Linked DNA regions of Homo sapiens: region 1 is linked to region 2. Evidence: promoter capture Hi-C in 16 types of primary human blood cells and fetal thymus (Javierre and others, 2016). All regions are on one chromosome and are shown on one strand. Each heading gives the region's core, a stretch centred on a gene start or on the middle of the fragment in contact. The rest is flanking DNA. Distances are from core to core; before and after follow the strand shown. Region 1 overlaps SMAD4 (SMAD family member 4). Region 2 holds the start of SMAD2 (SMAD family member 2).

Region 1 (3,549 bases), core at 59-2,558, 3.1 Mb after region 2:
AGACATTTGCTCAGCTAGGCCAGCTAGCTAGTACTTCTGTAGAGATCATCTAGGGCATGTTCAGCTCTCCATTTACATCACCTGAAGTAGTTCCCAAGTGCTGGGCTATGGAGTAGTTTCATCTCTGTCTCTGGAAGAGCTATTTAAAAAAATAAAAATATTTTTTCCCATCTGATTGCAACACACATGCTGCTTCAGAATGGGAATGGAGTGGAGGAGGCATGGGAATCTGTGTTATTTTTAAAAAGTGCCTCTTGATTCTAAAGGTTTTGTTTATTTTGGTATGCTTATCCTTACTGCTTTATTTATCTATTTTTTAGAGACAGGTTGCCCAGGATGGAGTGCAGTAACATCATCATAGCCCTCTATAACCTTCAACTTCTGGGTTCAAGAGATCTTGCCTCAGCCTCCAGAGTAGCTAGGACTACAGGCCGGCACCACCACGCCTGGCTGATTTTTTTAAAACTGTTTTGTAGAAATGGGGGGGCGGGGGTCTTGCTTTGTTGCCCAGGCTAGCCAAATCTTATTTATGATTTAAAACTAGGAATGCTACCGAATATATATTTTTATAGTAAGGTATTATTTCTGTATGTTAATATGGATGAATGTATGCTACTCAGGTCTTTTCAAGTCAAAATGTATTTCTAAATATAAGATGAATTAAGGATATTTGTCAGTGATATTCACTAGTGAATTCTAGAGCATATGTTATCAGTAGATGGGCAGTCCTTGTAAAAATTGAATAATCTAGTGAAAGGATGACCGGAAATAATATTTAATGGGGTAAGCTAAGCCAGGAATCATTGTACATAAACACATTAGGTGTGTCTTACATCATAAATATGCCTACTAAAACTAGTTGAAGGAAGAATGTGTATAGATGCTGAAATAATGAAGGGGCTGGCTAATTGTAAGGAAAAATGATACAACTTCTATATAATTAGTCTTTTTAATCAGTTGCATATACTCATGATACTTAATTTGTAAAGTAAAGATTGTAGACTAGATCAATGCTTTGTAAAACTAACAGTACCTCAGACTTCCAGAGTGTTTTTTAAAGGTACAGCCCCACCCTTGATTCTAGTTAGTGGAGCTGGCCTAACCTGCGGGGGATTTTGATACATCCCCCTTTGAAGGAATAAGCTAGATGACTTGAAACTCTGCTTCAGTTAAAAGTTTTATGAAATGAGGCCGGGTGCGGTGACTCACGCCTGTAATCTCAGCACTTTGGGAGGCCAAGGGGGGTGCGGATTACCTGAGGTCAGGAGTTTGAGACCAGCCTGACCAACATGGTGAAACCCCGTCTCTACTAAAAATACAAAAATTCATTGGGCATGGTGGCACATGCCTGTAATCCCAGCTACTCACATGCCTGTAATCCCAGCTTCTTGGGAGGCTGAGGCAAGAGAATTGCTTGAGCCTGGGAGACAGAGGTTGCAGTGAGCTGAGATTGTGCCACTGCACTCCAGCCTAGCTGACAGAGCGAGACTGTCTCAAAAAAACAAAAAAAGTTTTATAAAATGTATTTTTCAGTTATCAGTTATTAAAATTCAGTTTGGTTTCCACCATCTTTTAAAACAGTGGTTCCCAAAGTATGGTCCACAGACTCCTGGAGATCCCTAGGATCCTTATATTTAAGGGGTTCACAAAATCAAAATTATTTTCATAATGAAACTGAGACGTTATTTGCCCTTTCACTGTGAGGACATTTGTATGGGTGGTGAAGGAGCAGTGGTGGGTAAACTGCTGGCACTTTAAAATGACTCTAGGCAGTTATACCAAACATATGAGTCCTCATTGTGTTCTTTATAGTCAAACACACATAAGCATTTGAAAAAATGCCGGTTTCACTTAATAATCCCCTTGCTGCAGCAGTAAAAAGGTTTAATTTTAAAAAAATCTCTACCTTGGAGTATGTCTTTTTAATAGTGTGATTAAATGGGAAGTATGCATAAAGCATTTCTGCACATTGAAGTACAGTGTTCTTTTCTAGGAAAAGCACTTGTGTTATTGAGCTGCAAGCTGAACTAGCTGCTTTTTAGTGGGACACCATTTTTATTTTTATTTAACAGGATGACAGATAAGCTCAGATAGCTATTTAGATTTGAGTATTTGGCAGGTAATTCCTTGGAAATGAATAAAGTGAGCTGGCCACTTCGAGGAGAACATTTATAGCCAGTGCTAAAATCTGATGTTTCAAGTGAAAATCAGATTTTTGGGAAACTCCTGTCACTATGACTTGCCAGTTTCTTAATACTTAAAGACTTTTCTGATGAGATGGGTGGTGATATTAAGGAATGTGATTAAAAAAAATATGTTGGGCTGGGCACGATGATGCACACCCATATTTCTAGCACTGTGGGAGGCGGAGGTGGGAGAATTGCTTTTGGCCAAGAGTTCGAGACCCTGTTTCTACAATAACATATAAAAATTAGGTGTAGTGGCATGTAGTTCTAGCTGCTCAGGAGGGTGAGGTGAGAAGATTGCTTCAGCCAGGGAGTTCAAGGCTGGATTAAGCTAGGATCGCACCACTGCACTCGGGCCTAGGCTACAGAGCGAGACTGTGGGGGGGGGGGCAGTATGAGGAAGTGTGTCAACACTGGGAAGATCTGTGTAACTCATTGAACCAATATTTTCCCAAATGACCAATTCATGTTACAAAATCGTGCATGGGTAGGCGATCCGTTCAAAGTACAACATAGACAAATGGATTTTTATATACACCAGAGCCAAAAAGTTCACTGATACAGTGAATTCCACATTGCAACTAACCTTTCAGAATTGCCACTTGAGTTTTGGTGTTGAATAAAAGATGAATATCCATTGTTTTCTGAGAAGGCTGTTAAAATACTCCTCTCTTCCAATTAGCTGTCCATGTGAGACACGTTTTCTTCATGTACTTTAAACAAAACAACATATCATAGCAGATTGAATGCAGAAGCAGATATGGGAATCCAGCTGTCTCCTATTAAGCTAGGCATTAAGAGAAATTTGTGAAGATGTAAAACAGTGTTACTCTGATTCCTGACTTTGTTTTAGAAAATTCTGTTTTTCATAAGATGTTTATATTAACGTAATGGGTTTATTATTTTAAATGAATTAATAAAGCAAATACCAAAAATTTTAGTAGTTTTATTTATTTATAATATGATAAATATCAATGTATATAGCCCGCATAAAAGCTATTTGGTGTCTTTAATAATGAAGAGTATAAATAAAGGTCCAACTTGGCCAACATGACGAAACCCTTTCTCTACTAAACATACAAAAATTAGCTGGGCATGGTGGTACATGTCTGTAATCCCAGCTACTTGGGAGGCTGAGGCACGAGAATCACTTGAACCTGGGAGGCGGAGGTTGCAGAGAGCTGAGAACATGCCTCTGCAGTCCAGCCTGGGCAACAGACTGAGACTATGTCTCAGAAAAAGAATATGAATAAAGGGATCCTGAGATCAGAGAGTTTGACAGCTGCTGTTTTAAAGTAACTATTTCTATGCATTATCGACTAAATTACTGATTGATTGAATTGTTTTTATGGTTTGTACTATA
Region 2 (3,736 bases), core at 177-2,676:
AAGATGGAAACTTTTTAAAGGGTGTTAAAGTAGAATAGCAAATTTTCAGCATAATAAGAGCAAATTTATTACTAGGCTCAAGGAAAACATCCTATCAGCGATTCATTCATACGAAACTATCAGGTTCAATTCATATGAAGTCAGAAGAGAGAAAAAGAATTTTGGAAATTAAATCACATTTCAAAGACCATTTCTAAAAAGATGTAATTATTCCAAGTTATTTATTTATTAACAATTATTTTACACATGTCGTTTTAAAAGTTTCACAAACCCAAATTTAAGATAGTCCAAATTGCAACAAACAAGACATGACTTTGATGGAAAATGCTGCTTGCAAATTCGTTTTACCTGGAAATTTCTTTTTTAAAGGTATGGTTGACAACACACTGGTGGTATTTTGCTTTTAAAGGGTCAAGAGAAAGGAATAACAAAACCAACCCAGGCATTCTTTTTCTGTTTAGGATCAAAAGGACATTTTAAGGATAAGTAAAAGACAAAAGTACCTGACCCAAAGACAATATCCCCCTCCAAGAGAACAAAGTAAGTTGCAATTTTAAAAACCAAGTTTGAAATACGAGAAATCACTTCGAGGGCTTTCCAAAGGCGTGTGATAAAAACTAATAGGCTCCACCCGCAGAACAACTTTCACAAGTGAGTGAAGGATGATCACAGAGTTATCAGCTGTGTGCGTGTTTGTGAGTACACACAAGCCATGGAAAACCCGAGACTACCACTGTTAACAAAGGTTACGAGACCAAAAAAAAAAAGTGGAGGCAAAGTATTACGCGTCCCTAACAAGGCTTCCCCACAACTCCTGAAACAAGAGCTCTGGCCCTTCGGCTTTAAAAATCAGAACCACAAACTATGGAGTGTGAGAGCAGCGAGGGGAAGGGACGCAGGCAGCCCCCGCCCCCGTCAGCCTGGGCGGCAGCGCAGTGCAACCGAGCCCCGTCCCTTCCCGGCTCTCCGGCCCCGAACCCGCACGCCCGGGCCGGCGCACCCACAGCCCCCGAACTCACCACACCCCAGCCCCCACCCGCAGCGGCCATGTGACACGGCCCATCGCCCCGGCCGCGGACGCACGCAAACACTTCCCTAGCTGGAGGCCCGCGGGCGCCCAGGCTTTACCTGCAAGGTGGCGCCAGGTCCCGCCCCGTCAGATCCGGGGGGTCCGGGACCTTTTGTTCCTTCCTCTTCCGATGGGATGGAGGGGGCTGGGAGGGGAAGAGGGGAATGGGCGATTGGAGGCGGAACTGAAAACACTCCCGGCCGCCGTCTTCCCGCCCCGCCCCCAGGCCCGGGCCCGGCCGGCGGCCCGGGCGCGCGGGAGGGTAGGGGAAGAGAGGGGAGGGGAGGGGAGGAGAGGGAAGGGGAGGGGAGGGAGCCTGGCCGCCGCCCGCGGGGAAGGAGGGGGTGAGGACGCGCGCGCCCGCGCTGCCCCTCCTCCCCTCAGGCGCGCGCCCGCAGCCCTACCGGCCGCCCGCACGGCCGCGCCCTCCCCCGCCAGCCCACCTCCGCTTCCGCCCTCCGCCCTCGGCCGCCGGCCGCCGCGGCGCCACGCACCCACCTCCCGGCGGCTGGCGGGCTGCTGGCTGGCGAGCTGCTTCTCCGCCGCCGCGGCCGCGCGGGTAGACCCGCCTGCCACCCTGGGCCGCGGGCCCCGCCGATTCGCCGGCGCAGCCCCGGGGCTGGCACCCTGCCGCCCGCTGATTGGCGCCTCCAGCCGCCCGTTAGGGCGCGAGGCACGCCGGCCGAAAGCCGCGCGGGGCGGGTATGGAAGACGGAGGGAGCGGAGGAGGAAAGGAACGAGGCCGAGCACCGCGGGAAGGGCCGGGGGGCGAGCGGGGCGCGGGGAGTCGCCGGCCACCGCCTCCCCACCTCCCTTTGCCTACGGCCCGCCCCGCCTCCCGGCCGGACCGGCGGCGCCCGCAGCCAATCAGCACGAGGGAAGCTCGGGGTGTGAGCCGCGCATCGGGGGCCTCGAATCGGAAGGGAGACGTCGCTCGCTGATTGGTCCCGCCTCCCCAGTCTAGCGTGAGGCGAGGCGGGGCGCGGCCGGGCGGGGCGGGACGCCCGCGGTTTCGCTTGAGTTGGGCGCCGGCGCGCTCCCACCGGGGCTCACGGGCGGAGAGGGAGAGGCCCGCGCCTTGCCGCGCATTAAGACGATTCCCGGTGACCGCCCGATCCCTCGCCAGCGTCGTGGGTGGGGCCTGTAGGGGCCTGCCGCCTCGTCCACCGTCCGTCGTGAGGCCGGCAGCGGACACGTGCTCATCCCACGGGGAGGCCCCGCGCAGCGCGGAGGACGCGCCTGAGAGAGAAAAGGGGTTCGGGAGAAGCCCGAGGACCCGGCCCGTGACTGGGCGCGCCCTATGCAAATGAGCGGGCGGGGCCCTCGTGTTGCTGAACGAGGGCGGGTTCGCGATGTAAATAAGCCCAGAGGTGGGGTCTTTGGAGAGCACTTAGGGCCCGGGTAGGGGATGCCAGGTATAAGTGTTTAACCTAAATTTTGGTTCCGTCTTCAGTAAAAATGATATCAATAATCCATGTCCCGAAGGGTCTTTGTGAAGTCTAAAAGAAACATCTGTCACGATGTCCCTTAATGGCTGGGATATCTTCCCTTCCCCTTTTCTCCACTGTTGCGACGATTAGGCCCCAACTTGCACATCTGCCCTACAGGAGGCAGCAAGGCCCTAAACTTACGGCTGCCCAGAACATAACTGCACCCAGGGAAAACCTTGTTGCGGTTACCCTTAGGAACACCCAAGCCTCTGCTGACAAAATATTGAGCCCAACTAATCACATCAGGTGTTTACTATGCACCCACTGTGACACAGGCAGGGAGTACCGTAGAACTAAAGTTGAAAAGAAACTTAGGTTTCACACAGGTGCCAGAGACAAGACTAGAACACAGTTTTTTTTTGGCTGCCTGTCCAGTAATTCATTCTCATGTGTGGCTTAGTTTATAGATTTAATTGGGGACTTCAAATAAGCGGGAAAGAAGCACTAGCAATACAAATCGGTAATCAGGAAGTACCAAATGAGCACTCCAAACAGTAAGAGTTTTTGAAGTATACGCTTTCTTCTGAGAAATGAACGTGTCCCAGAGGAGGGTGCCTTCAGATGGACCTTAAGAGAGATGTGGCCATCCCCTGAGTCATACAAGTTTTCCAGATGTCCTTTCAAAATCTCTGTCCTTTCCACCGTCTCTGTCCTCACACATAGAGGAACTTTTCTCACGGGAAGGTTGCGATGAAGAGCATAAACCCAGGAGTCAGGCACGTTGTAGCTTTGAGTACGACTCTGTTCCAGATCTGTAATCTTTGGCAAATGGAACTCACCTGCAACGATACCTACTTAAATATAGTTGTGTGATGATTAAATAATAAATATGAAAGTAAATAACATAGGGCTTTGAAGTTCAAGGAAAGTCAGTGATCATTAACTTCTCTTCTGTTGCGTGCGAACATTTATGCTGAGACGAACCTACTCAGCAGAAATTCTTCCTCCAAAAATTCCCTTCCAGGGTGGTTTCTTCCATTGTTAGTTTAGAGGCAGCTCTACTAACCCCTTAATAAAAATAAAAAAGTTTGTGAAGGACACCCAGGAAGCCATTTGGTGGAGCTGTCCCACCTCCTCTGCCTTGTTTCCTCTTTCCAGAGCCACTAGGGAGGACGGTCCAGGGCAAAGGCTGTTCAACTTACAAGTAGGAAGGCTGTTTCTTGTTTTTGGTCTGTCT

Evidence for each region. The method cuts DNA at HindIII sites, captures the fragments that hold promoters and counts their contacts. A CHiCAGO score of 5 or more calls a contact.
Region 1: a contact is called between a fragment that was not itself captured here and the fragment with the promoter of SMAD2 in region 2, in 1 of 17 cell types (neutrophils). The highest score is 5.5, in neutrophils.

The regions. Positions count from the first base shown.
Region 1 is chr18:51,035,687-51,039,235 of GRCh38, forward strand. All of the region lies in intron 1 of SMAD4 (SMAD family member 4), which reads left to right. Among named protein-coding and RNA genes, the nearest start is that of SMAD4, 7.2 kb to the left of the region's middle. The HindIII fragment of the contact is 9,660 bases long and covers 1-3,549 here.
Region 2 is chr18:47,929,233-47,932,968 of GRCh38, forward strand. It overlaps SMAD2 (SMAD family member 2), which reads right to left and starts at 1,427. Exons shown (of 11, transcript NM_005901.6): 1 at 1,129-1,427. It overlaps LOC124904297 (a long non-coding RNA gene), which reads right to left. Exons shown (of 2, transcript XR_007066360.1): 2 at 2,956-3,736. RefSeq lists silencers at 856-1,385, 1,416-2,345. The HindIII fragment of the contact is 8,478 bases long and covers 1-3,736 here.